Regions from separate parts of the Homo sapiens genome. Here all the other regions are linked to region 3. The links are contacts of gene promoters, found by promoter capture Hi-C in blood cells and fetal thymus (Javierre and others, 2016). All regions are on one chromosome and are shown on one strand. Each heading gives the region's core, a stretch centred on a gene start or on the middle of the fragment in contact. The rest is flanking DNA. Distances are from core to core; before and after follow the strand shown. Region 1 has its middle 65 kb from the start of ZNF648. Region 2 holds the start of LOC105371642 (a long non-coding RNA gene). Region 3 holds the start of RGSL1 (regulator of G protein signaling like 1). Region 4 has its middle 6.9 kb from the start of ZNF648. Region 5 overlaps NPL (N-acetylneuraminate pyruvate lyase). Region 6 has its middle 27 kb from the start of ZNF648. Region 7 overlaps NPL (N-acetylneuraminate pyruvate lyase).

The links. Contacts are between HindIII fragments. The CHiCAGO score rates a contact against its expected background, and 5 or more counts as called.
Region 1: a fragment that was not itself captured here is called in contact with the fragment with the promoter of RGSL1 in region 3 in 3 of 17 cell types (neutrophils, M1 macrophages and endothelial precursors); the score reaches 5.8 in neutrophils.
Region 2: a contact is called between a fragment that was not itself captured here and the fragment with the promoter of RGSL1 in region 3, in 2 of 17 cell types (neutrophils and erythroblasts). The highest score is 5.4, in neutrophils.
Region 4: a contact is called between a fragment that was not itself captured here and the fragment with the promoter of RGSL1 in region 3, in 3 of 17 cell types (neutrophils, erythroblasts and monocytes). The highest score is 5.8, in neutrophils.
Region 5: a contact is called between a fragment that was not itself captured here and the fragment with the promoter of RGSL1 in region 3, in 7 of 17 cell types (M0 macrophages, M1 macrophages, naive B cells and 4 more). The highest score is 14.3, in M0 macrophages.
Region 6: a contact is called between a fragment that was not itself captured here and the fragment with the promoter of RGSL1 in region 3, in 9 of 17 cell types (M1 macrophages, M0 macrophages, M2 macrophages and 6 more). The highest score is 13.1, in M1 macrophages.
Region 7: a contact is called between a fragment that was not itself captured here and the fragment with the promoter of RGSL1 in region 3, in 3 of 17 cell types (M0 macrophages, M1 macrophages and M2 macrophages). The highest score is 7.1, in M0 macrophages.

The regions. Positions count from the first base shown.
Region 1 is chr1:182,124,198-182,128,280 of GRCh38, forward strand. No RefSeq gene overlaps it. Among named protein-coding and RNA genes, the nearest start is that of ZNF648, 65 kb to the left of the region's middle. The HindIII fragment of the contact is 3,573 bases long and covers 851-4,083 here.
Region 2 is chr1:182,107,506-182,111,462 of GRCh38, forward strand. LOC105371642 (a long non-coding RNA gene) reads left to right here and starts at 2,566. Exons shown (of 3, transcript XR_922341.3): 1 at 2,566-2,705. The HindIII fragment of the contact is 1,706 bases long and covers 971-2,676 here.
Region 3 is chr1:182,448,047-182,451,827 of GRCh38, forward strand. It overlaps RGSL1 (regulator of G protein signaling like 1), which reads left to right and starts at 2,100. Exons shown (of 22, transcript NM_001137669.2): 1 at 2,100-2,132. The coding sequence starts at 2,120. RefSeq lists an enhancer at 1,938-2,545. The HindIII fragment of the contact is 4,233 bases long and covers 1,353-3,781 here.
Region 4 is chr1:182,066,793-182,070,489 of GRCh38, forward strand. It overlaps a transcript of ZNF648 not described here. Among named protein-coding and RNA genes, the nearest start is that of ZNF648, 6.9 kb to the left of the region's middle. The HindIII fragment of the contact is 2,333 bases long and covers 867-3,199 here.
Region 5 is chr1:182,793,785-182,797,606 of GRCh38, forward strand. It overlaps NPL (N-acetylneuraminate pyruvate lyase), which reads left to right. Exons shown (of 13, transcript NM_030769.3): 3 at 572-655. The coding sequence starts at 588. Among named protein-coding and RNA genes, the nearest start is that of NPL, 5.9 kb to the left of the region's middle. The HindIII fragment of the contact is 1,435 bases long and covers 1,473-2,907 here.
Region 6 is chr1:182,086,276-182,090,400 of GRCh38, forward strand. No RefSeq gene overlaps it. Among named protein-coding and RNA genes, the nearest start is that of ZNF648, 27 kb to the left of the region's middle. The HindIII fragment of the contact is 453 bases long and covers 2,608-3,060 here.
Region 7 is chr1:182,819,849-182,823,641 of GRCh38, forward strand. NPL (N-acetylneuraminate pyruvate lyase) reads left to right here. Exons shown (of 13, transcript NM_030769.3): 11 at 2,267-2,351. Among named protein-coding and RNA genes, the nearest start is that of DHX9, 18 kb to the right of the region's middle. The HindIII fragment of the contact is 1,763 bases long and covers 1,626-3,388 here.

The DNA of each region.
Region 1 (4,083 bases), core at 1,387-3,886, 320 kb before region 3:
GCTCACTGCAACCTCCACCTCCTGGGTTCAAGCAATTCTCCTGCCTCAGCCTCCCAAATAGCTGGGATTATAGGCATGCACCACCATGTCTGTCTAATTTTTGTAATTTTTGTAGAAATGGGGTTTCACCATGATGGCCAGGCTGGTCTTGAACTCCTGACCTCAAGTGATCTGCCCACCTGGGCCTCCCAAAGTGCTGGGATTATAGGCATGAGCCACTGCACCAGGCCTGGAAGAATTAATATTCTAAATGTTCATACTACCCAAAGCAATCTACAGATTAAATGTAATCTTTATCAAAATTCCAATGGCATTCTTCATAGAAATAGAAAAAACAGTTCTAAAATTTGTATGGAACCACAGAAGACCCTGAATCACCAAACCAATTCCAAGAAAGAAAAAACATAGTTGGGGCACCACACTACTTCACTTAAAATTATATTATACAGTTACAGTAATTTTAAAAAGTACTGGTATAAAAACAGGCACATAGACCAATGGAACAGAATAGCGAGCCCAGCAATAAACACAAGCATATATGGTTAACTAACTTTTGACATGGCCTCCAAGAGAATACAGTGAGGAAAGAATATTTCATGTGAAAATAAAGGGGCTGGAAAAACTAAATTTCCACATGCAGAGGAATCCAATTGGAATTTGTCTCACACATACACAAAAATAAACTCAAATTGGATAAAAGGCCCAGATGTAAGACCTGAAACCAAAATCTCCTAGAAGAAAACATAGGGAAAAAGCTCCTTGACATTCACTTTGGCAAGGATTTTTTAGATATCACACCAAAAACTCAGGCTATAAAAGCGAAAATAAATAGGACTGCATCAAACTAAAAAGCTTTGGCAAAGCAAAGAAAATAATCAACAAGATGAAAAGTCAGCCTATAGATTGGGAGAAAATATTTGCAAACCATATATCTGATATGGAGTTAATATACAAAAATATAAAGAACTTGTACAACTCAGTATCAGAAAAATAAATAACTTGATCAAAAAATAGACCTGAATATACTTTTCTCCAAAAAAGACATAAAGATGACTACAGGTATATGAAAAGATGTTCAACATCACTAATCATTAGGGAAGTACAAATCAAAACCACAATGAGGTATCACCTCACAACTGTTAGAATAGCTATTATCAAAAAGACAAGAGATAACAAGTGTTTGTGAGGGTGGGGAGAAAAGGTAACTTTATTACACTGTTGGGGAGAGTGTAGATTCATGTAGCCACTGTGGAAAACAGTATGGAGGTTCTGAAAGAAATTAAAAATAGAACTACCAGATGAGCCAGCAATCCCTTTTCTTGGTATATACCTGAAAGAGATGAAAATATATCCACCCCCATACTCATTGCAGCATTATTCGCAATGCCAGGATAATCAAAGTGTCTGTTGACAGACGAATGGCTAAAGAAACTGTAGTACATATACACAATGGAATACTATTCAGCCTAAAAAAGAATGAGATCCTGCCATTTGTAAAAACATGGATGAACCTGGAGGGCATTATGCTAAGTGAAATAACTAAACACAGAAAGAGAAATACTGTATGATCTCACTTACATATGAAATATTTTTTTAAGTTGAATATACGGAGGTAGAGAATAAAAAAGTAATTACAAGAGCAGGGGCTGGGGAGGAAGGAAATAGGGAGATATAGGTCAAAATATAAAAAGCAGCAGATATGTAGAATGAACAAGTATAGAGATCTAATGTACAGCATGAAGACTACAGCTAATAGTATTGTATTATATTGGGGATTTTTGCTAAAAGAGATTTTAGTTGCTCTTGCCTCACACACACACAAAAATGAGTAATGATGTGAGATGATGGATATGTTAATTTGCTTGACTACAGTAACCATTTCACTATGTACATCAAAATGTCATCTTGCACACCTTAAATATATACAATAAAATTTAAATAAATTGCAAAAAAAATAGTAAGAATCATTTCTTGAATACCTACTATGTCCCTGGCACTCATCTGGGTAGTGTTCTGGTAGCATTCTAGGTGTATCTAGGGGATAGATTAGAGAAAAAGCAGATGAAAATTCCTACCCTGGTGGAGCTTATATCTTTGAATGTCAATTTCACACATTCAGTACAAAAGGGCATGCTGATATTTATCCTCATTGAAGCTGTTGACCTCCTTCAAGGGCTTGTCAATACCAGGACTGCTCAAAATGATTAACCAGATGATTTGGACTGCACTGGAATTTGATTAGTGGTAATTTGAAACATCCAATAATATTTGCCTTGCCTAGTGATAAGCAGATACTTGGCAAAGAGGATGGAGTACAAGCCTTGCTTTATCTCAGAACACAGACATCAGGGACTGTAGGAAAGAATGCTCTAGAAGGAGGTCCCCTCCCTGGGGCAGGCCCTGTGTTGGAATGGAATGCAGATTTCAGGTCGGAGAAGGCAAGTGGAGAAGGCCACTGTCCAGGTCTGTAGGTGGGACAGACACAGAGGGCTGGCTGTTTCCCTTGATGGTTCTCACCAGTAGCCAAAATCAGGGATCTAAAACAGAGTCTTTTAACAGGGCTGCTTTATGGAAGAGAGGGGCTAGAGTCGAAAACCAAAACTGCTCCAAAGTAGTCCAAAGAAGCTAATATGGAAACAGCCATTTTTCATAGACTTATTCATTTAGATTAGGATGATATGAATTGAAGAATCTTTTTTTTTGATATTGGTCAGAGACTTAGTGTAAGAAAATTGGGAATATTAAAAAGAAACAACATTGTGACTGGTCTATGATTTATATTACTAATAGTAAACTGCCATTGCTGAACATGCTTAGAAAACATTTTAAAGAAGCTCTGTAGAACTTAGGCTACAAGACTACAACCTGTATCACTTAAGGAAGTTATTATGCTCATAACATTGCCAACTGATGGAATGTGCCTCTGCTGACTTGTACCCAGGCCAGCCCACACCACAGACTGCAGTCAAGTCTTCTCTGCATGTCTTCATCAGCCCCCCACCCTCTGTTTATTAAGGCCACAGTGGAGCCAGCCTGGAGGAACAGGGCTAGGAAGGAGGGCGTGGATCCAGGAACCCAGTACAAATCACATGCAATTCCTCACTGTCTCTAATTTTTATTCTCCAGTGAAGATCAATGTAGGAGAGAAAGATAAATGCAAGGAGGGCACCTTGGGGAGTTAAGGGAAAGTAATGGTGCTGACTGCATGCTCTGGGAGTTGTTGTCTTCTCATATCTGTGCTAGCAGGGCAATTTTCTTCTTGCAACACCACATTCCCCTCTACCTTAACAGTGGATACCTGAACAGTTTATTTTGCCATTTAAAAAGATGCAGAATACTCCTCTCAATCCTTCAATCATACAGATTACAGGAAAAAAAAAAAGAGATTAATACAAGTAGAAATGAGCCTCGGTTTTGCCTCTGGTGTGTCACTGTAGAGGAATCACCTCTTTTTCTAAGCCCCTCTATTCCCTAGGCAGCACCCTAGGCTGTTGAGGCTACACGCCAGCTGGTGCAGCTCCACAGTACCATTCCTATTTGACAGATCTAAGAGGATCCCAGGTATGTAATAAATGGTCATGAGAGGTTCTGCTGACTGTGGACACCAACATACTTGCAGCTTCATTGAATGCTCTAGAAGGAGGTCCCCTCCCTGGGGCAAGCCCTGTCCTGGTAATGGAATTCAGACTGCAGGTCGGAGGAGGCAAGTGGAAAAGGCTGCTGTCCAGGCCTGCGGGTAAAACAGAGAAATGGCTGGCTGCATCTTCCCTTTCTCTATTTTCTTTCCTCCAGTGTATACAAAGTGCTGATGTAAAATTTTCTGATCTCCATCAGCAATCATCTTCAAATAGCAAAGTGGAGAAGGCAGCAAGAAGGGCAATAAACCCAGGGAAAGAAAAGAAAGAAGTCAGCAGCCATGGAGGGAGGCTCAAGTGAGTGGCAGGGGTGATGAGAAACCTGGCCTCCAGGTAGAGAGCACAATGTGAAACTGTGCAGGGGAAGTCAGTTTTCTAAACTGAAGGACACAGCATATCTGTTTTGATGATGTTAGTATTAGCCTATCCCTGGAGATGAGAGTCTCAG
Region 2 (3,957 bases), core at 574-3,073, 340 kb before region 3:
GAGAGATCAAACACTGACACAACATTGCCTAAAGCCCTTTGGTGCTTTCCTACTGTCCACAGACAGTCTAAGCTCCTTGCCACAGTTGGTAAACTCTCCATAATCTGGCCCTTACCTATCTCTCAAACCTCCTTTTCCACTGTTCACCTTTGTGAGGTCCGTGGTCTAAAACTGCCAAACATATTACGTACACTTCCAAGTATTCCTGCTGTTCCTTCTGCATGAATTTCTCTTCCCTTACTTCTCCCCCTATTTAAAACTTTACTTATTCTTCAAGAATCACCTTCTGCCTCTTGAGTCTAGTCCAAGTGGCCCTTCCACATGCTCCTATGGCAAAGTGTCATCAAAACACATAATTAGCCTGTAATCTCAGCACTTTGGGATGCCAAGGCAGGCAGATCACTTGAGGTCAGGAGTTCAAGACCAGCCTGATCAACATGGTAAGACCCTATCTCTACAAAAAATACAAAAATTAGCCAGATGTGGTGGTGCATGCCCACAATCCCAGCTACTTGGGAGGCTGAAGCAGGAGAATAGCTTGAACCCGGGAGGTGGAGGTTGCAGTGAGCCAAGATCTTGCCACTGCACTCCAGCCTGGATGACAGAGCAAGGCTCCGTCTAAAACAAACAAACAAACAAAACAAGACCACCCCACATAATCAGTTTTTTATGACTGTCACCCTCACCTATCTGTAAGAAACTTGAAGCACTCCAGCTTAATGGTGGCATTTAATAGGCCCTTAGTAACAGTTTGAAAAACTAAATTGAATAATAATCATTAAGATTAATCAAAATTAGAATTTATATTGTCTAGGTGTCTTAGTCATTTCGATGGGTGGGGTTTATTTTGTTGTTCCTTGAGTGTATTTTTCTCTTAATTTTAAATAATATCTATAACTATGAATATTATATTTTAAAGATCCATTATATTTTCTAGCTTATAAATGGGTGATTATCATATTATTTTCAAAGCTTTTTTTTTTTTTAAACACAGCAAGATAGGCACGTTGATACTGAGCTCTCGTTTGCTCATTTTGGGGCCCTCACATATTTTGACATTTTTTTCATCTTCTCCATCAAAAGAGACTCAGTGTTCTGTAGGATGGTGCTCCATTTGTTAATATATTATCGTTATTAATATGTTACCTTCCTTCCTAGTGGGATTGGAACGTACATTGTTTTATGCCTTTATTCATTCCTCATCCTAACCAATTCCTTATATTTATGTCATGGAACCATCTCCCTGGTACCTCAGAGTAAAACTCTTCTCTCAGCAGAAATGATAAGTTCCCTAGTTGGTTATTTCAGTTGCTGGAGCAGTAGCTAGTGAGGGTCTCTGCCCCCTGCGATTAATCCAGACGATCGCTATCAACTTTCTCACCTTTGCTCTAAAAACCCCAGCTTCCCTTAGCTTTATAACAATAATGGTGATGCCTATTGCCAGTGATTTGAAGAAGCGACCCAGGGAAGAAGGGAGTGAATGCTTTTTACAAATGACTGGTTCTCCATTTGGTTTTATTGCTTATTCTCTTACAACTTATAACCCCCAAAAGGCAAAAGAAAAGTTCATTAGTTCAGTGTCTGACAGCTCAGAAACGAGTAACCCAACACATTTGTGTCCCCTCCATTGATTTAACCCTTGTCGTAAGTTGAATTTTCAAATAATGTCCACAGCTATATTTCTAGTCTCACATATTGTTCTGGAACCTTGCCACCTCCATCTGCAATAAGAAATGAAGTCCATCTCCCCTTCGCTTTGTGACTGCTTCAATGGGTATAGTGTCATGGAAATGATACTGAATAACTTCTAAAGTTAGGTTATGAAAGGCAACCTGGCCAGGCATGGTGGCTCATGCCTGTAATCCCAGCACTTTGGGAGGCCAAGGCGGGTGGATCACTTGAGCTCAGGAGATGGAAACCAGCCTGGGCAACATGGCAAAACCCTGTCTCTACTAAACATACAAAAATTAGCTGGGCGTAGCCAGGCGTGGTGACTCACGCCTGTAATCCCAGCACTTTGGGAGGCCGAGGCGGGCGGATCACAAGGTCGGGAGATCGAGACCATCCTGGCTAACATGATGAAACCCCGTCTCTACTAAAAATACAAAAAATTAGCTGGGCGCAGTGGCAGGCGCCTGTAGTCCCAGCTACTCGGGAGGCTGAGGCAGGAAAATAGTGTGAACCCGGGAGGCGGAGCTTGCAGTGTGCCGAGATCGCGCCACTGCACTCTAGCCTAGGTGACAGAGCAAGACTCCGTCTCAAAAAAAAAAAAAAAAAAAAAAATTAGCTGGGCTTGGTGGCACATGCCTGTAGTCCCAGCCACTTGGGAGGCTGAGGTGGGAGGATTGCTTGAGCCCAGGAGGCAGAGGTTACATTGAGCCAAGATTGTGCCACTGCACTCCAGCCTGGATAATAGAGTGAAAATGTGTGGCGGGGAGCGGGGGCGGGGAGGCAACCCACACCTTGGGAACACTGAGCTGCTCTTTATGATGATATCCAATTACCCTGAAGCTGCATGTTGGAAAGGTCATGTGGAGATATCATGTAGAGGGAGAGAGAGGCCCAATGAACCCCAGCTATTTTAGCTCTCATTTTTGCATCTTCCCAGTGAACTGACAGACAAAGGCTGGGAGCTGGAAACTTCTGAAGGCTCATTCACTTGCATGTCTGTCATGAAGCTTCAGGGCAGCTCCAGCTGATGCCAGGTGAGCAAAGATGAGCTATTTTCTCTATACCCTGCCAAAACTGCAGATTTGTGTGTGAAACAAATGCTGTTTTAAGCCACTACATTTTTGGAGGGGTTCTTATGCAGGAATATGTAATGAGAACACCCCTAATGACCTGAGCTCAAACCAGAAGTATTATTTAATCCCTTTTCTGTAAAAAAGTAGAAATTTAGGTTCTTGATGTGCTCTTTATGGCAGACAGAAATGACAAGTCAGAGTGTTTTAAACTCTTTGTTTCCAGGCTACTGGGTGAATATAACACAGGAGATATTTATTCAGGGCCTCTGGGAAGCTAGAGAAAGAAAGAATAATTAAAGTGGTCCAGAAGGAAGAGAAGCATGTGACAGGCTATGCCTGGTACCTCCAGACCAGAGGGTAAGGGATGACCATTCCTTTCTTGTACATGTGTATCACATTCCTGATTTTCCAAAAACGGTATTCACCACCCCCAGAGAAGAACGCGAAAGTCCTGCTTTTCAGAGTGCATGATTCTTTCCACAGAGAAAGAAGATTCCCCCCTCCCTTCCTCTCCTCTCCTTGCTACTTACTATATTTCTAGCGCTCGTGCCTCCATGATTAGAAGACAGGTGGATGACTGTCCATGGTGCTGCCCTCTGCTTACTGCACCAGACCATGTTTTGTTCCTTCACAGGAACCCACATCCACAGGCTCTGTGACTTACAAAGACAAAGGCATCCTAGATGCCTACATGATCTAGAATGTGTCACTAGGTCTTGTACATTTGTTGCAGATGGGATATAAAGAACGTCTAAAAGGGAAGACCACCCTTTGTTCTTTTCTTTACTCCAGTACCTTACCTTTCCTCCTCTATCTCTTTCCTTCACCCCATGCCCTCTCCCTACAGGCCTCTTTTATTGCTGTGCCAGATCGTTAAGTGGAGGTAGAAAGTGGATGGCAGTGGCAGGGTCCTGAGGGTCCAGAGGATAGGACTATGCTTCACAGTTATCCAGGTGGCAGCTGTGGTGAGGGCTGACAGAGATGCTCCATCTGAAGCCAGACCTGCATACCAATCCAGCCTCTGATGTTTGATTGCTGTGTGAGTGAAGCAGTCACTGAGTCACATTTTTTCTCATCTGTAGACAGACAACTCAGGCAGAGCAATGTGATGAGGATTAAGTGGGGTGCTGTATTAGAATCTTGTAAACTACAAAACATTCGGCTAATGAAGGGTTACTTCCTTCTATGGGGGCCCCAAAAAGAGATTAAAAAG
Region 3 (3,781 bases), core at 850-3,349:
CTTAATCTTTGCCAAAGAGACCTGCTGTCATTTCCAGGGTAACTGTGCACTTGGGAAAAGGAGATGCCCAGAGTTTTGCAAACCAGATCAGATCTAGTAAATGTCAGATCTGAGATGTGAATGCAGCTCTATTTCATTTAGAAACCAATTTATTTGTTTGTTTGTTTGTTTGTTTGTTTGTTTGTTTGTTTTTGAGACAGAGTCTCATTCTGTTGCCCGGGCTGGGGTGGAATGGCACGATCTCAGCTCACTGCAAAATCTGCCTCCCAGATTCAAGCAATTCTTGTGCCTCAGACTTCTGAGTAGCTGGGATTACAGGTGCGCAACACCACATCTGGATAATTTTTTTGTATTTTTAGTAGAGAAGGGGTTTCCCCATGTTGGCCAGTCTGGTCTCTAACTCCTGTCCTCAAGTGATCCACCCACCTTGGCCTCCCAAAGTGCTGGGATTACAGACGTGAGCCACTGCATCTGGCCCCAATATTTTCTATATTTACCTGATGATAATAATTATCTGGGGGCACTTGGAAAATATACAGACTCCTGAGCCCCACCCCTTCTAAATCAGAATTGCCAGGGGACGGTCCCGGCAATTTAGGTTTTTAACAACAACCCTGTCAATAAGGTAATTCTTATTACCACACATTTGGGAGACATCTGGTGCCCTTTTCTTTTGGGAACTAGAAGGTCATGAAAGGGTCAGGGATCTAACCATTATGCATTTCAAGATTTAGCCAGTGATACTGGCTTTTCATCTTTACTGTTTTTAGAGTGACCCTATTTGGTTGTTAATGGCTCCAACAGTCAGCCTTTTTGAACTGTGGGAAAGACGGTGGGGCAGCAATTAGGACTCAAGGGTAGGTGCACACAGCTTGATTGAAAACAGTCTGAAAGCATTCCATCTTAAGGAATGTGAGCATATATTACTACTGTATATGCCATTATTTTAGGAGGAGACCTTGACTCTATTTATTTTGCAAAAGAGGTGATAATTCAAGGAATAATATGATATTGTAGAATCATGCAGTGCTTCACACTGAACTCTCTTAAGATGTGTGCATGTTAAACTGACTAATTAATAAGGTGAATAAGGTAATTGATAACAGATTGAAGAAGTATGGTAAGCTACAATCTCATCTTGCAATACATAGAACATCAAGATGTAAAGCAAGAATCTCTTCTCACTAAAATCACTTTAAAATGCAGTATTTGGTCTTTATATATTCTAAAGAAAGTACAGCACTTTTTCAAATGTAAGTGATATTGTATTGACGATTCATTATTAACAATAATCCTTCCAGTTTTCAGTTTTCCCTCCACCCCCCATAGGAAAGCCTTTTGGACATTATATAAGCTTCCCTACAATCCCAAGACTTAAAAGCCCTCTCTGGGTGTGACACTGAAGAATTCTATTCTCAGTAATTCTTGGCTAAAGTTTGAAGGATTATAGGGCTTTTGGTCTCTCATCTTAATATTTACTTCCTATTAGGGAAGAACAGGAGAAATGAAGAGTTGTTTAATGAGAAAACCAAGAGCCTGAAGAGTCTTCAGAGGAAGGGAGTTCAAACCTCTTGGAAGCTGATGTTTTAATTTTAATTTTTTAAAGATGAGGTTTCACTCTGTTGCCCAAGCTGAAGTTCAGTGGTGTGATCACAGCTCACAGCAGCCTTGAATTCCTGGGCTGAAGCAATGGAGGTTGATGTTTTAAATGGGCAGAATATCCAGGAGTTACTGCTTATTAAAATTACATCAAATGTAACCGTTTACAAGACCCTTAGGAGCTGAGTTTAGCAATGCAAAAGTCACCCTAGCATGGGAGAGGTTGGAGCAGACAAGAGATCTTGGGCACAATTATAAAGAACTTGTCAAATAAAATAGTATGAACTAAAGGCTTAAGTATAGGAGGAGTCTTGTATGTCCAAGGGGATTCAGCAGATTAGGTAAGATAAAGACTTATCTTCAGATTAAGGCCTACACCAGAGGTAAGTAGATCACTGCCAGATAGAATCTGGAACCCCTTAGAGAAGGTGTCATTACGTGTTCACAATGGATATAGTTCTATTGACTGGGGGGTAATTCTGCCCCTAACAAATTACTGTGTCAGGAAGAGCATGGCAACATGAGCAGTGCTGGTGAGTCTCTGCCAGGGATGTCTCCAAGGCCTTGAGTCTCTCAAATAAGGCAAACCATTCATCTTCCCAATTGTTAATAGATCTGAGCCATTCAGGGGCACCATGGGTGACTTTTGTGTTATTCATGCCTTTGTTTTCCTTCTCTTTCTCCTTCTTCCCCTTCCTCCTACCTTCTGCCACCAGATCTTTGAGGATAGTACAGGGCCTTATTCATAAGACAACTAAGGCAAGAGGGAGGAAGTAAAATGTGGATTGGGCCACCTCTCCTCCAGAGAGAAGACTGGTATGGGGTTTGAGATTATGCAGTGATTTCATTTGTTGCCAAGTCAATATTATTATGGCGTGGAATGGGTGCTAAAAGCCTTCTCAAATTATTAGGAAGTTTGAAGGCAGAACAGGTAAGAAGGAAAAACAAGAATGGAGAAATGAGAGGATGAGGAAGGGAAGGATGTACAGAGCCTTGTCTCTATATCTCCTTAAGACTGTTTTGGCAATGGCAAGCCCTAGCATAGTCAGGCCCCTTGCCACCAGCGGTGTGTGTAGCTGTGAACAACAATCACTAGGGAATTTCTGCCAAACCCCACTTTTCTGTATTCAGATGGGCTCAGTAATATACTCATTCAACAAATCCATGTTAGACTCTATGAATGATAAACAAACAAAAGTCCAAAAGATTGAAAATCATTGGCTGGGAGCGTTGGCTCACCCTTGTAATCCTAGTACTTTGGGAGGCTGAGGCAGGTGGATTACCTGAGGTCAGGAGTTCAAGACCAGCCTGGCCAACATGGTAAAACCCCATCTCTACTGAAAATACAGAAATTAGCCAGGTGTGGTGGCATGCACTGTAATCCCAGCTACTGGAGAGGTTGAGACACAAGAATCACTTGAATCTGGGAGGCAGAGTCTGCAGTGAGTTGAGATCTTGCCACTGCATTCCAGCCTGGGTGACGGAGTGAGACTTTGGCAAAAAAAAAAAAAAAAAAAGATTGAAGATTATCTTTTGAAAGAACAATTTATTCCACATTTACAGAACTTAGACATTGTGCAAACACTTTTAGAGCCTAGAGGAAGAAAGGTGAAAAAACAAAGTCCCTCCTCTCACACGCTCAGTCTGATGAGGAAGACAGATATATCGATGGATAAAAACAGTCAGACTTGTTAATTGTAATAATGGAGGATATACGTGATGGTATAGGGAGATAGTGATGAATTCTACCATTGCAGTAGATTCTACCTTTCTTGGCTCACCAAGATTATATGTAAACCAGTTCTTAATGGATGACTATTAATTTGTGAGCTGACTGTGCTTAAGAAAACATTTGAAGCAATGGGAATATGGGAACAAAGACATGGAGGTTTCAAGTGAGAGTACCTAGCACATGCAGGAAACAGCAATGCCTTGGCTTAGCTTGCAAACAGGAGGCAGAGTGCGCAGAGAGGCAGGAAATGAGACTGGGAGGAAACTCAAAAGCCAGATGGGGTAAAGCCTCAGATACTATACTAGAGAGTTTGGACTTTACCTTCTAGGACATCAAGGAGATTTTGAAAGACTTTAACAATAATAATATCAACAGATTATGGTGGCAGTACGTGTAGGGTGGTTGGAAGGGCAAGAGGTGGGAGCTAGGGAGACCATTTAAGAAGCTGAT
Region 4 (3,697 bases), core at 783-3,282, 380 kb before region 3:
TAGTCATTTTTCAATAAATTATAAGCCTTATTATTTTTATCCTAGAGCTATTGGGAGCTTGCTGATACCTTTGCTCCATCCCTGTTCTTCCAGAATGCTAGCCCTTAATTACTCTGCTTCCAGAAGGGTGCCATTCTCTGATTCTGGTCTCCTAGCCCCAAACATTCCCACTGAGAGACTGACCAAGCAGCCTTTTTTGAGGCCAATAACGTTCCTAGAGCAGTGATGTCATAAACCTGGGTCTGTCATCGCGTGCTACACTTGGCACACGTGGCAATCAGTGACAGAGTGGAAGGTTTGTGCTCTGGATGGGATGACATTATAAGGCAATGACATCACATGTCAGTACTTCCTGGCACCCCCTGCAGAACAGTGCCAGGTAGAATGCCTTCTCTTCACTAACTCAACACCACCTGCCCCAGTGAAGACTGCACAGTGTAGTGATGGAGCATACAGGCTCTGACATCAGGCTACTTGGGTAAATCCTATTTCTACACCCTGCATGACTGTGAGCAAGTTGCTTAACCTTTCTGTGCCCCAGTTTCTTTGTCTGTAAATTATGGCTAATAATAATATTTAATATCTAGCTTACAGAGTTGTTGTGGGGTTTAAATGAGATGATGTGCTTTGCAGAGTACAAGGGATGGACAAGTGCCCAATCAGTATTAGCTAACAATATAATATGGGGTAGGAAGGCACCTCTACCTCCTGTCTAAACAGCAGAGAACCCAGAGAACCCACCTCTGGTCTCCACTGGAACCTTTTCCTCAAACTTTCTGAAGCCCTTACTCAGTATAACCAGGTCCTACTGAGGCAGTGGTCTCTGGAGCCACTTCTGGAGCTCACCAGAAGACCAGCCCTTTCCAAGCTTCTCAAGACCTACATTGCACTATAGTGACCCTGCCAGATGACCCTGGAAGCCTCTGGCCCAGGCCGAGGGAGCATAAGCTGCAAGCAGTGGGTTGGGCTTCACTGCAAGCAGTTGGATGGGTTCATGGAACCCTCAGGGTACAAGAGGCTGAAGATTCAAATTGTCTACTGACATAGCAGCATATTATCTTGGCCCACACTGACTACCACATCTTTCAAGGCCACAGAGACTTCAGGCCTCCACTCCTCCACATTCCACCTCAGCCTTGGGACCTTGTAGAAAACTGAGGAAGAACACCACAAATGAGACTTCTGGGAATCTTCTATACCTTAGGTTTACGTTCTGACTTTACTGGTCCTTCTGGGCTCAGGGATAGAAGGTCTGGGGAGGTTAGAAGGGAAGATACTGCTTATCTTTACGTAATAAACACATTGAAAAAGAACCCTCTGATCTCTTGTATCAGTGGGAATCCCTTGAACTGAGGCTTACCAGAGCCCAGGGGCATGATGAAGCTGTTGGAAATTTAAAAACAAAGGCATCGACCTCAGTATTTTTAATGAAGAGATCTAAGAAATTATCTAGTGCAGCCCCTCTGTTTTACTGGTGTTGAGATTGAAGTATTCATTTATTTGTTCGATCATTCATTTACTCACCAAACATTTGTTGAGCTTTACTATGTCAGTGTTTTTCAGACTGCAGGACACAATCTGTGAATATGACAGGGAATCACTTTAGTGAGCCACAACCAACATTCTTTTTTAGAATAGAACAGAAGACAGTAGAATATATCAAAGTGTCTCACACATAAAAGTATAGTTTCATGTAATTTTTGTTTTAGGTTTATAAACATAGTCTGGGGGTATATAATGAAGACTGTATCTCATAGTCTGGTTTGCTCTGATTCTTGGTCAAACACAGTTGAAAAACATTGTACATTGCATCAACCCTGCTGTACATAAGAATAATCTGGGGCCAGGTGCAGTGGCTCATGCCTGTAACCTGTAGTCCCAGCACTTTGGGAGGCTGGGGCGGGAGGATCCCTTGAGCCCAGGAGTTCGAGACCAGCCTCGGCAACATAGGGAGACCTCACCTTCACAAAGAATTTTTAAAAATTAGCTGGATGTGGTGGCACACACCTGTGGTCCCAGCTACTCAGGAGGCTGAGGCAGGAGGATCAGTTAAGCTCAGGCTACAGTGAGCCATGATCAAACCACTGCACTCCAGGCTGGGCAACAGAGTGAGACCGAGTCTCAAAGGAAAAAGAAAAGAAAATTTTCCTCTCTGTTCTTAGAAGAAAGAAAGAAAGAAGGGAGGAACAAAGGAAGGAAGGAAGGAGAGAGGAAGGGAAAGGCAGGGGGCTCGCCACCGTCCAGAATTCTCCCCCATATTCCCTGATCCTTGCTTACCGCCTTGGGCAGGTGCTGTCTCTTTCTCTCTGGACCAGGCTGGAGCCTCCCGGCTCTCTGGCTCCCCCTTTGGCTCCCTGGAACATTGCCGCTGGGAGCCTGGCTTCTGACACAGCTGCGGAGCTCCTGGCTCCGCTGTCCTCCCAGGTCACACCACCTACATGCGCTGGCCAGGGTACAAGGGGCCTTTTCTTTCCAAGGCCCCCATCAAAACCACACGCCTCTCCTCGCAGCTGTCTAGCTCGGCTGCCTGAACACAGAGGTAATTCACAGGAGATGTGGAAGGGCATTTGAGGTTTCCATAAAAACATACTCCCTTTTCCTCTTTCAACTGCTGCACTGAACGTAACCAGAGAGGACCTCTCTTCATAGCACTCTGGCCACGGGTGTGAAGCAAGTTTCTTGAAAGAAATTTCCTATAGGGCTGCTGGAGTGCGGCATCCCTCTGTAGGTGTGGATTCTCCTGGCAGGATGAGCTGTGGCCTGGTTTTGCCTATATTGAACAGTAAGCATGTCTATTCTTTGAAAAGACCATGAAAACCTCTGGCAAATCTAATGGGGAGTGGGGGCTGGGTGAGTTAAAAAGAAATAAAATATAAGTAAGGTATAAAAATATAAAGGCATACTTTGAGCAATTTTATGTCATCATGTTTGAAAACATCAATGAAGCAAATTACATTCTTGTACATATGTAGAATTGAAATCTTACATTTGGAATAAAAAGTATCAACAATCTGCTAATAGCTGGGCCTCATCAGATGAAAGTGCCTGGGCCAGACCCAGTCCTTGGCCTTGCAGAGACAAAAACTCTATTTTGACACGCTTCCCCCACCCACCTGTCACCACCTCCACCCCAGGTGCCCAGGCTAGTTAGGGAAGGGCAGAGGTGTGAGGGCTCCAGGCATGGCTACTCTGGAGAGCAAGCTTCTGCTCTTCAGCCAGGTTTTCTCACTTAGGAGGGGAGGGAGGATGAGATATGGCAGAGGCCCTTTGCACAGTGATGTGCAGTCCTTCTTTACCAGGAAAAACGGGACTGCCGAGGATCCCAGGACATTCCTGAAGGCTCACCAGCCTGGCTCTATGCATAGGACAGTGTAGACAAGTTGAACTACAGCACCAAGAGCACTGAATCAGAGCTGGGGCTGGTATCAGGAGCCTGGTGCCTCTTCTGCACCCCAAGGACACGGCTGTGTAACCGGACCCAGGTTCAGCTGCTTGCTGCTGCAAAGCCAGAGGCAAGGGGTTCTGGGAGGAAAAGCAGAGCCAGCAAACCCAGAAGATGGCAAGCTAGCATTCTAAAGTATCATCTTACATTTTATAACTTACCATAGAGTTTTTAAAGGGATATGTGGTATAGGGGACATGTGGGAGTGGTACAGGGTACTGGACTTGTGTGTCTTGTTCCGTTGGCTCTCTTGGT
Region 5 (3,822 bases), core at 940-3,439, 350 kb after region 3:
TTTCAGTTTAAGTAATAGTACAGTTGACCCTTGAATTACGTTGATTTGAAGTGTGCAGGTCCATTTACACAGATTTTTTTCAACCAAATACGGATAGAAAATCAGTATTTGCAGGATGCAGAATTCTCATATGCCAGGCTTGGGGCTGACTGTGTGACTTGAGTAGGCATGGATTTTGGTATACACGAAGGTCCTGGAACTGATCTTCTGTGTATACTGAGGCATGACTATAATTCACTGTATGTTTTACTTACCTGAGTTAGGTTCAAGCTCTTTCTTGGGTCTGCTGCTGTTAACCTCTATCCTTTGAGGTGTTAGATTGCTTCCATCATCTGTATAGCTAAAATGGGAGACTGTCCACGTAGTATTTTCTCAAGTCTACCCTCTCCTGTCTTAAAGTTTCCTCCTCAATAGAATTAAGCACTAAAATTTTACCATCTTGTACTTGCTCTGTGTGTTTGTGTACTTGTAAGCACATTTTACAGTTCTAAACTAGAAATGGACTTTGCCTGGGAGTTTTATCATTGACATTCCTTGAAGAAAGAGAGAAATTACATTGTATGTTTTCCAGACCTACCAGCAGCTCAATGGCCTTCCCAAAGAAGAAACTTCAGGGTCTTGTGGCTGCAACCATCACGCCAATGACTGAGAATGGGTAACTATCATTTGGGGCCTTGAGGGGATCAGTTCTCATTCAACCAAAAAGGAGAGAAGTTCTTTGTAACAACAGTCACTTAAGACCCTGCACCTCTGTAGAACTGTTGCCAAAAGGCAGCTTCTGTCTGTCATCCCTCTGCACTGTCTCTGATCCCCAAGTCTGAGGAGGCATTATATCTCTGACCCCAAAGTCAGAGAAGCACTATATCACCTTGCAGAAAGGGAGAAGGTGAGAAATGGCAGCTTGCCTTTCTCCCAGTGTCTGTAGCACCACAGAGCAAATTCTCCTTGGATTTCACCACAGCCTTGGCCTTTCTAAACAGGGCCAGTAGCATTGGATGAGAATCCCATTTTAGCATAATTGGATATCAAGCACTGACCTAGGCCCTCTCAGGATGCTGTCTCTGGACGTCAGCATGATTCCACTTCAGGCTGTTCATAGACTTGATAAAAATGTCCTACCCTGAGGAAAGTGGGAGGTTATCTGCAAGATGGACTCTTTTTTCCTGTTTACAGCCTCATTTCAACATTGACTAGATGTTGGGCAGCGGGGGAAGGGAAGTAACAACAGTCCGTTGTTGACTAATCATTACCCCAAGCAAGTATTTTGACCTCCAGATGAATACAGTGGCAGTCCTTCTGCTAAAAAATCAGATAACAAAAAGGCCCTGTGACATAGGGAGCCATGCACTGTGTATAACTCCTCCTTGAACATCACCCCTGACAAAAGAGAGTTCATCCACCTCCTGGATCTATATGTTTTTGACCTGTCAGAGGAGTCAGGCTGCCAAAAAGTTAGAATGCTGGCTTATTTAAGCTTCTCCTTTCTTTCTATGTAATATTATAATAATAATCATACCTACATAATGAATTATAAGCATTAAATGAGATAATTCATACAACAGTGCTTGGCACAGGGTCAATACGCACTTAGGTCAAAAAGTTTGAACTGCCTTTATGTCATAAGGCAGAGGCAAAAGGAAGATGTATTTAGTACACCTTTTACAAGGGACTTTCTTTTTGGTCTTCTGTTGCTGAATTTATAAACGTTCATCTTACCCTTTTAAAGGAGATGAAATTTCTCATGTCTTTTAGTATTCTCCTTCAAAGTTGGCCATTTTGCAGTTCTACCTTAGAGACTCTCCAATGAGTCCAAGACTTCTGGCTTCTAAGATCCATGAAAAATCACGTCCTTACTAGGTCTAAATAAGATTCTTGCTGATACGGCATTTAGATTACTCAGCTGGTTAATAATAATTTTTTTTCTGTTACTTCCCCTTTCCACAAGTTTTAAGAAAGACTGGCATCAGCTGTTTCTCAATGCATCAGTCACTTGTTCGCAGATCAAACAGAAGACATGTGATTGCATGAATCGGCAGGATTTACTTCCTGTTACAGAGTGAGATCCTTTCTGTAATCTCCTAACACTGCATCTGGTCCATACTACTTTAACCTTTTAATAAGACCCCTCTTATCCTGGAAGTGGCTTCTTAAAACAGTCTTGTTTGTTCATCAGGGACCCACGGACAATGTCAGTGTGTTCTTCCTCCCTGTTTTGCCGTTTTCCTGGAAGGCCAGATCCCATGATAGAGATAACTAAAATGACTTTTTCTGGATCTTTTTCCGTTTCCCAAAAATCTGTGGTCCTGCTGCATCCATTTTACTATTTTCTCATCAATTCTGCGTTTTTCTTCTAGGAACCTTACTTTCCTAAGGTGTGAAATCAAAAAAAAAAAAAAAAAAAAGAATGCATTATGTGTAGGCTCTTTAAGAAATAAATAGTGTAGGTCAGTGTATAGCACAGAGTAGGCATGTGAGCCATGTTAGTTCCCTTTTCTCCCACCACCTGCTTCATCAAACATTCCTGTAGGTATAAAGTAGCTTTGGAACACCCACCAAGAACACGTAGGCTTTAATGTACTTACCCACAAGGGAATCTGCACTTCTGGCATGTTTCTAAGACATGAGATGGAAGGAAGGGGCACATGGAATCTAATACCTGGAAATACTGCCAGGTGACCTGCCATTGTGGGAGTTCTCCTAACCTGGCATGTACATATACATATCCTCCATAATTCTGAGTGGCTGAACAAGGACTATTTCCCTATATCCTTTTTTCTTCTCAATTCCAATGAAAGCTCAGTAACAATTCAGCTTTCTGCATATAAGTTGATGTCCTGGAGTAGGGTAGCTGGCAGAAAGAACATGGGTAAGTAGATCTTAGTGAAATGATGTGAGTCCTGGATCCCAAGCTTTGCCACTAGTTAGCTCTCCGACCCTGGGGAGATCTTGTCACCTTTTGAGAGCTCTCTCGGCCGGGCACGGTGGCTCATGCCTGTGATCCTAGCACTTTGGGAGGCCGAGGTGGGCGGATCACAAGGTCAAGAGATCGAGACCATCCTGGTCAACATGGTGAAACCGCCTCTCTACTAAAAATACAAAAATTAGCCTGGCGTGGTGGCGCACACCTGTAGTTCCAGCTACTTAAGAGGCTGAGGCAGGAGAATCGCTTGAACCTGGGATGCAGAGGTTGCGGTGAGCCAAGATCATTCCACTGCACTCTACCCTGGGCAACAGAGTGAGAATATGTCTCAAAAAAAAAAAAAAAAAGCTCTTTCATATTCTCCAAAGGAAGTTCAACCACATTATCTCTATGACCCTTTCCAACTCTTAAGAGTCTGCAGTCCTCTCATGTCATTGGGGATATTGTGGGGATCACCATTAAATAAGAATGTATAAAGTACCTATAATTCCAGTCCATCGTCCACACTGTAGCTCAGTGAGCTTCCTAGTAAATAAATCTGATCATGTCACTCTCCTCTTTAGGAATCTTGACTCTCTTTTGTCTAAGCCTTGCTACCCATCATATGGCCCATGGACCAGTTGCTCCACCACCATGGGAACTTGGTAGAAATGCACAAGCTCGGGCTGTATCATACTACAGATCAGTCCTGCATTTTAACAGTGTCCCAGATGATTCTTTAGCGCATTAAAGTCTGAGATGAGCCGGTCTAAAGATTAAAGCCCAGACTCCCTGGGATGGCATAGGAAGTCCTCACAGTTTACCTTTCCTGCTTCATTTCTTTGTCACCATACCTCTTCTGCCTTTCATGCCTTCACTCATTCTCTTTCCTCTGCCTTTTTCTACCACCATCTTCTTCTTTC
Region 6 (4,125 bases), core at 1,584-4,083, 360 kb before region 3:
ACAAGTGACTCAATTGTTGTCCCTTCTTCCTGCAGCCTCCCCAAGTCACTGCCCACAGATGGCCCTGGGCAGAAAGTGGTCAAAGAGAGTGAAGCCCGGGGGAGGAAAGCTCGGGTGCCCATGGCGCCCACTGGATGGCTGGCCTGGTTGGGACCCACTCTGGCGGGGCCAGCTCCTGGTGGTTCCCTGCACATCCATCCACTGTTTCCCATCTACACTCTGCCAGAAAGTCCTTCCTCTCCTGACCCCGCCATCCAAACCCTATGTGTTTCAGGAAATCATTTTTCAGATGCTACCTGGGGACTCCTGCAGCTGCTGTGCATTTTCTTGGAATCTCTCATGGAACCATGCATGATGACTGTTTCTACATCTCTGCATGGGAAGGAACTCAGGGATAGAGGGCACCCCGTTCCATCCCCATCCCAGCCCCTAGTGCAGGGGAAGAGAGCCGTGGATGTTAACTATTGTGAGTACATGACGGGAAGGAGAAGGTGGTGGCGCCTCAGGGTTGACAGGAAGGGACAGGAAGGTTTCATCATGGAGGCAGGAAGGGGGCCGGGCCCTGAAGGATGGATTCCATTTCTAGGTGAAAGTCACCAGCATGTTATCAGAGCGTCCTTCTTAAGTAGAGTCAGAGCTGCGCTATTTTGAGTGGAATGAAGGTGGTCTGTGGGTTGGAAAGGCCAGTCATGATCCCCAGTCCATTTTGTGGGTGCCCCTGGTTGATCCCTAAGACAACTTCCTGGAGTGTGTGCATTGACCACAGATGTCAGGGCCTGGGCTTCTCTCCTGAACCCAGTTCACACCAAAAAAGGACATGAAGGACAAGGACCAAGAGAGGGCTGGAGGCAGAAGTGCTCTCAGAGCGGACACAGGGTCCCACCCCAATCCTTGTGCCTGAAGCAGAGTTGCAGTGTGGCCGCTACTGGCACCAGTACAGCAAAGCAACACCCTAAAATCAAAGCGGGAACAGCAGGAGATGGAGCCCGTGTCTTTGAGGACCTCAGAGGCAGAACTTCTGGTTGGGGCCTGAGGACTTTTGCACTCTCCTGAGCACCCTTGCCTTTTCTTGCCACCGCAAGGGAGATGTTATCTTCAGACTCTGGGGCTATTGCAAGCTGCTGCTCTTCCATGAAAAGCTTGGGGCCTTTGCTCAGTGAAGTCAGGATGTTTTGAGATTACAGGGAGGGTGGAGGAAACAGGAGGGCCCACAGGGTGGGTGAAAAACCTCATTCTCCGCCCTCTCAGCTCCACCCTGCATGCACTACCAGCATTCTCAAGGCTTCCTTCTCAGTTTGTGTAAGACAAGGAAAGCCTGAACCAGGGATTCCCCTCTCAGCCACCCCAGCTGCAGCCCCTGAGGGTGGGTGTGCATGCAAGGGACAGGGTGGGGAGCCACAAGCTCATCTTCCACCCCTCCACAGCTCATCTGGCCTTGCCTCTATTGCTTGGGGAAAATGGCACCTTGAGGACAGAGTATGCCTTGCTTTCTCCTAGGAGAATGTTCTCTTTCTGTACTCGCTGATGGAGCTCTAGCTAAAAAAAGTATATTTCCCTGCCTTTTCTTTCTTCCTCCTTGAGGGCCTCTCTGTAGACTTTATCAGGCCACACTGATGAGCTCAGAACAGAAAAGTTATGGCTATATGGGAGCAGGCTCCTCCCTCATAGCTCCTGGTCAGATCTGGACATCTGGGGCAGCCGCGGATCAGAGCCCCAGGCTGGCCCTGGACCAGACCCCTGCTCCTCTGTCCCAGGCTGGCCCACTGCCTCCATGAGTCACTAAGGTAACCAGGAGGGCAACCACAGGGGAAAACAACCACCCTTATTGCCCCAGGTGGCAGTCCCAGCCCAGGGCAAAACTGGGGCATTACTTCAACTGTACCAAAGTCAGGCCTGTGCCTGGGGCTGCAGGAGGCGGCTGCAAAGAGGCTGGGCGGGGCAGCAGGAAGCCCTGTGGAACTTGCGTGTGTCCTGACTTGCCATTTCTGATGTCAGCACCTTCAGATGCCCTTTCATGGGGTAGGAACTGGGAAGGGCAGAGGTAGTAACATCTGAACAAAGCTGGGTGAATTCCCACGGAAGACGGAGCATCGAGTCGTCAATGCCTTTTGGTAAACAAGTCGCAGCTCTTCCGTCTTGGCTCATCCTCATGGGCACATCCCAGTGGTGTTCCCTGCCCACCTCTGCACCCACATTTTAAGGTGTGTAATCTGCCTCCAGCTCTGTCCTCCCCACCTCAGAGCCTTAGGATCTCTGGCTCTGACATTCAGTGCAATGTGTGCCGCCTGGTAGGCGCTCAGCGTTTTGAGTGAAAGAATAAATGTTTAGGTTTCCAGCAGCACCCCGTGCTGCTGGGATCACAGAGTGGCTGCTAAACCCAGGGTGTTGATTTGAGTGCCCAATGGGTGCTCCTCCGAAAGTAAGGGAAGTGACCCTGTGGAGCTGTGGCAGAGGTCGCATCCCCTGAGTTGCTGACCTTGCAGAGAAGCACAGGGTGCTCCTGCCTGTGGGTTGGGTGAAGCACCGTGTATATCTTTATCTCTGCTTGGGGGCCTGTTTCCTCCCCTTGACTTGTGCCTCCTCAATAGCAAGCCCGAGTCTCATTTAAGCTTTGAATTCTAGCACAGAGCTGGGCCCATCCATTAGATGAAGTGTGTTTACAAGTCTGTTCCGGAGTCGGTGGTGCTCCTGCTGCTTCACCTGGGCTCAGGACACCGAATACAAGATGCGGTTTCAGGATCTGGAATCCGCAGAGCCAGTGGGCTCCATAACCTGGGTCTGGGTGCCATGGCTAGCATCGTTGGCTGTAAGGAAGCTGTTCTGGCAGTTCTTGATGGCCGCTTCCCTAGCATCTCTGTGACAGGAGCCCTGAGAGAGGTCCTCTTCCTCCCTTTCCTTAACATCTGCCCTAGAGCTCGGCTGAGCTTCCCTGGGCCCTTGCAGCCCTGGTAGGCCTTTAGCACACAGAGTCAATATTTGTAAGATGCTCTGATGAGTGGCAGGAAGGGAATATACATTCTGTTTTATAGAAGGCAAGAGAAATATCAGAGGGAAAAAGTAAGCTTGCTCTTCATATTTGACCCCCACAGTGCCTGGAATGTGTGAGACGGATCCTGCCCTTTCCTTCACCAAGCCACCTAGCAGAACCCATGCCATCCAGGGCATCTGCGAGAGAAACACCTCTCCCAGCCTCCCCTGAGCAGCCCACTAGCGCTGTGGATTCCAGATCCTGAAACTGCATCTTGCACTCGGTGTCCTGAGCCCAGCTGAAGTGGCAGGAGCACCACTGACTCCAGAACAGACTTGTAAAGAAAGAAGGTATCTCCCAAGTCAGCCACAGAGGCTCATGGTTTCCTGCTCCATCTAGTCCTGGGTGTTTGCTTAAATGGGCACTGGCTGACATGACTGAAACCTCATGCATCCATCACACATTCACCCTCAACAAAGACACAGCCCCTCCTTTAAGGCCTGTGCTCCCTGTACATACACAGTGCCCTGCAGCACAGAGAAACCACATGAATGGCCTTCTTGGCTCAAGGAGTCAGGGAGTAGGGGCCTGCTGAGCATGACCATGTCCAGAGAGTGGGGACCCCAAGAACTGTAACAGCCCATTGGACAGATGTGGGCAGGAATGGGGACAAAATCACCCACAGTCTCAGACCCCAAATGAGGTGTGAATATGAAATCCATGAAAACCTCATGTGGAGGCCAAAAGACTAACTAGATTCCCATCTCATCTCTCCAGGCCAGAAGCCTATTATCCAATCCTTCCTCTCATTGCAAGCCCCAGAAGTAACAGCAATTACAAAATAAAGAAAAATAAGAACTTGTCAGCTCCAATTTTGGGGTTTGAATGTGGTCTCTGGGGAATGATCAGACGGTGGAAGCAGCTGTGGGCAGGGACTCCTCATGCAGCGATGACTACTCACTAACCCAGGGCATGCATTCGAGGTAAACCCTGTGGGATTCAGGGCTTGTCCTGCATCTCACAGTTGAGCGGGCAAGAGCCACCTCTGCCCAAGTGAGGCTTTGTCCCGCACGTCATCTGTATGACCTTGCTCTAGGCTGCTCAGGGACGGTAAGATTTTTGTTCTTGAGGACTGGAGCAGGTGATGGCCCAAGTGC
Region 7 (3,793 bases), core at 1,257-3,756, 370 kb after region 3:
ACTAGCTTATGTACAAGAAGATATGTTATTATAAAATACTGGGAAATCACATAGAACCTAAGAGGAGGATGTACAACCAGGCCTCAGAGAAGATGAAAGCCAAGAACTGCAGAATCTCAATAGCCAAGGCAGATTATCTTCTATATGTGGTTTTTTGGAGAGACTCACCTCCACATCTTTCTGCACATCTCTTTATTTCTCTTCTCTCTCTCTGTATCCAGATGGGCTTTCTCTGCTTTAGCATGCACATGGCCAGTCATGGCTGCCCAAGCGTGGCATCTCGGGACATCATTAGATAGCACTACCTAGGCAAGTGTCCATGTCAGGTCCAACCAGAAGCATGTGGCCCAATGCCTACTTAGCAAAAGACAGGCAATTCAATTAGCATGTCCACTGCACATGTTAACCTGATTCATAAGAATATGCTTCCAAGCAGATTGAATGAAATTTTTGCATTAACTGAAAGGTACCAGGGGAGCAAAATAACATTTATAACATGTCTTGGTGAGCCTGGCTGTGAGGAAGAGTGACTGAGTTGAATAATATAAATGGCTTGTTCACCAAGCCAAGATGGCCTATGACAGCCATTGTAACTTCAGGGGTATTTCTACTGAGGAAATTTGAATGTGTATTTGTTGACCATATGTATTAATTCATTCTCACATCGCTATAAAGAAATATCTGAGAAATTTATAAGAAAAGAAGTTTAATTGGCTCACAGTTCTGCAGGCTGTACAGGAAGCATGGCAGCGTGTGCTTGGCTTCTGAAGGAAACTTTCAATCATGGCGGAAGGCTAAGCAGGCACATCTTACATGGCCAGAGCAGGAGGGAGAGGAAGTGAGGTGCCACACGCTTTTAAATAACTGGATCTCACGAGAACTCACTATCGCGACAACAGCACAAAGGAGGATGTGTTAAACCATGAGAAACTGCCCCTGTAATCCAATCACCTCCCACCAGCCCCACCTCCAGCACTGGGGATTACATTTCAACCTGAGATTTAGGCAGGGACATAGATCCAAACCATATCACCATTAAACCTTTTTCCGCCTGGAAATTCTTTCTTTTTTGGCTCCTGCTTTTTGTCCTCCATACTAGGCATTTTAATTCTGTCAACATAATCTATAAGCAAAGTACATTTGGTTAGACTTCGTTTCTCCCTAGTTATAATCACCTTTCTGTCTAACCAGGGATACACCTAAGACCATTGGGATTCAAATGTTAGTATTCTGAAACTCCTCAGACATTGTTCTTCCTTGCTCTATTGCCACAAGATAACATGAGCTTCACATTCCTGGAATCCCTTGCTGTTGACCCCAGTTCTATATATACAAGTCCAACAACATTTCTGTTAGTGGTACATCAAGATAAATACTTTTTCTGATACCGACTTACTATGAGAGAAGCCATTTGAATTTAAAGAACTTGGGGAAATATCCTTATTATGAGTTTCTATAACCTTCTACCTTGCTGGTTTCTCTAAGAATTCAGTGACTTATTTAAGATATTTATCTTTATAGGTAGAGTTGGAGAGTTTTTTAAGTCCACAAAAATATTTTGTCAGATCAAATTCTCACCTTCATTTTTGTTGAATTGTTATAGAAGACAACATGAAGCAATGGAAAGCTTTCATGGAAACCCTGAAGCCCTTCTTTAATCAAAATAAAAACCAGGCCTACCTTGCAGGGTTTTACAAGGATTAGACATGATTTATGTCAAGCACCTATAATATAATAGGCACTTAGTAAATGATCCCTCATTTTATTATCATCATTATTAATATTACTATCTAGAAACTAGTCTTTAAGTAATATACACATTAGCAAGGAATATAGGTAATTTATTGGGATTTGCCCCTATTTTCATGGTGCTCCATCCACCCAGTTTTTCAGCATAAGGCTTTTAGGACTCACCTCAGATGCTACCTTTTATCCACAGTTCTTGTCTAGCATTGCACCTGTGTGTACCCTAGGGCAAGAGCTGGCCTCAGTCGCTTCCTAACAAATACACCTCCATCTTTTTTATCTTTTTTCTGATTTTCTTCCTTTATCCCCTTTTGCCTGTCTTCCTTCTCTGCAGTACTGCTCAGTATTGCTGGAAAACTCAGAACTGAAGACAGTCTTGTCCCCTAATAGATTAGGATTCAAAAACAGACTTTAGGAGGACTAGGTGTATTTTTTCCCTTTTAAACAGCAGAGGGATTTGAAGATCTGGACCTTTCCTGTTGAGTTATTGAACCTGCAGTATTTGTTATTGTCTTGCCAGTACCTATAACTACCTGGGAAAAAAGACAAACCAGATGTTGGAGGCTTTTGAACAAAAGGACTTCTCTTTAGCCCTGAACTATCAGGTAAACGTTTTCTTCTCTTCCCATAAATCACAGCCTTTTTTCTTCCCCACTTGAGGATTCTTTTTCTTCTCTCTACCATGCCTGCCCTCATTAAAATTGCCCAGCCACTTCTTTCTTTACCTTTCTTCTGTTTTGTACTTTTTCTTGTTTAAAACCAAAGCTGTCCCCATTGTCTGTGTTCCCGACATGTCTAATCAGGACAGGACCCATACAGGGATGGCTCCTCTCTTCCTCCTAGAAAGGATCTTATTTTTACTCTATCTTCAAAGTACTTTTGTGACTATAATAAAATGGTCATAGATTTCTGGGAAAATGACCACAGGCTGTCCCCTTGAGGACATCACATCAGAGTTATCACAGAATATGAGGAAGCTATGAAGATGGTAACCTAAAATGGGGAAGGCTTCATTCAAAGTCAGGGCAGGTCAGTCTTGTCCACCCTGGAAATGTGCTGAGAACTAGGAACATCCACCAGGAAGGAAATAAGAGCCTAGTGGGTGATCCAAAGTAGATACAGGATTTGAGACAGGAAGGAAAAACCAGCAGAAGCTGATATGTTGCACGGAAGACCCCAGAGGACATAGTGGCTGCTGTGAATGTTCCATGGAGGACAGCCTAGCCATCAGGGAAAGAAGAGCCTCAGTGAAGGGTGGAACAGTCTCAACAACTGGTTGTCTTTTATTTAGAGATAGGGTCTTGCTCTGTTGCCCAGGCTGGAGTGCAGCGATGTGATCATAGCTCACTGCAGCCTTGAATCCTCCTGGGCTCAAGCAGTCCTCCCGCCTCAGCCTCCTGAGTAGCTGGGACTACAGGCATGCGCCACCATGCCCAGCTAACATCTGGTTCTAACCCATGGTTCTAAAGTGTAAATGGAATGAATTGGAAGAAAGTAGGGTGGATATGAGAGCAAGACTTTTGGGGTCTGAGAGGCGTGAGGATTTTCAGGATAGTATAAGTGGTTGAGAGGAGTATCCCAAGAAAATAAGTGGGAATGGAAAGACAGAAGCAAGATTGGAGCAAATGGTTGGTCCTAATAAAGCTTGGCTGTGGGATCTTTCTGAACAGGACAGGCTGCCATCAGGGTAATCAGAGATTACAGATCAGAAGTACAAAGTATCCTGGGGGTTAAAGGAAGTGACCTGCAGCCCCAACCCAAAGACAACATGAAGAAGCAGAATCCAGAGTGGTTTATTCCCTACCCGTAGGCCTCAAAGTTGAGCCATCATAAATCTACTTCCTCCTTAAAGTTTAAATACCATATGTAATATTCGCCTTTGTCCTCAGACCAAGTGAAGCTAAGAACAGGAACAGGGTAGGGATCTAGGAAGCTGTGCCAAATAAACTAAACATCGACAAGACTTTGGTTTAGATAAGGGTGAGAAGAATGAATTGTGCAGACTCTGCCATCTCCTTGCATTGATGGTTCTCTCCACCCTGCCCAG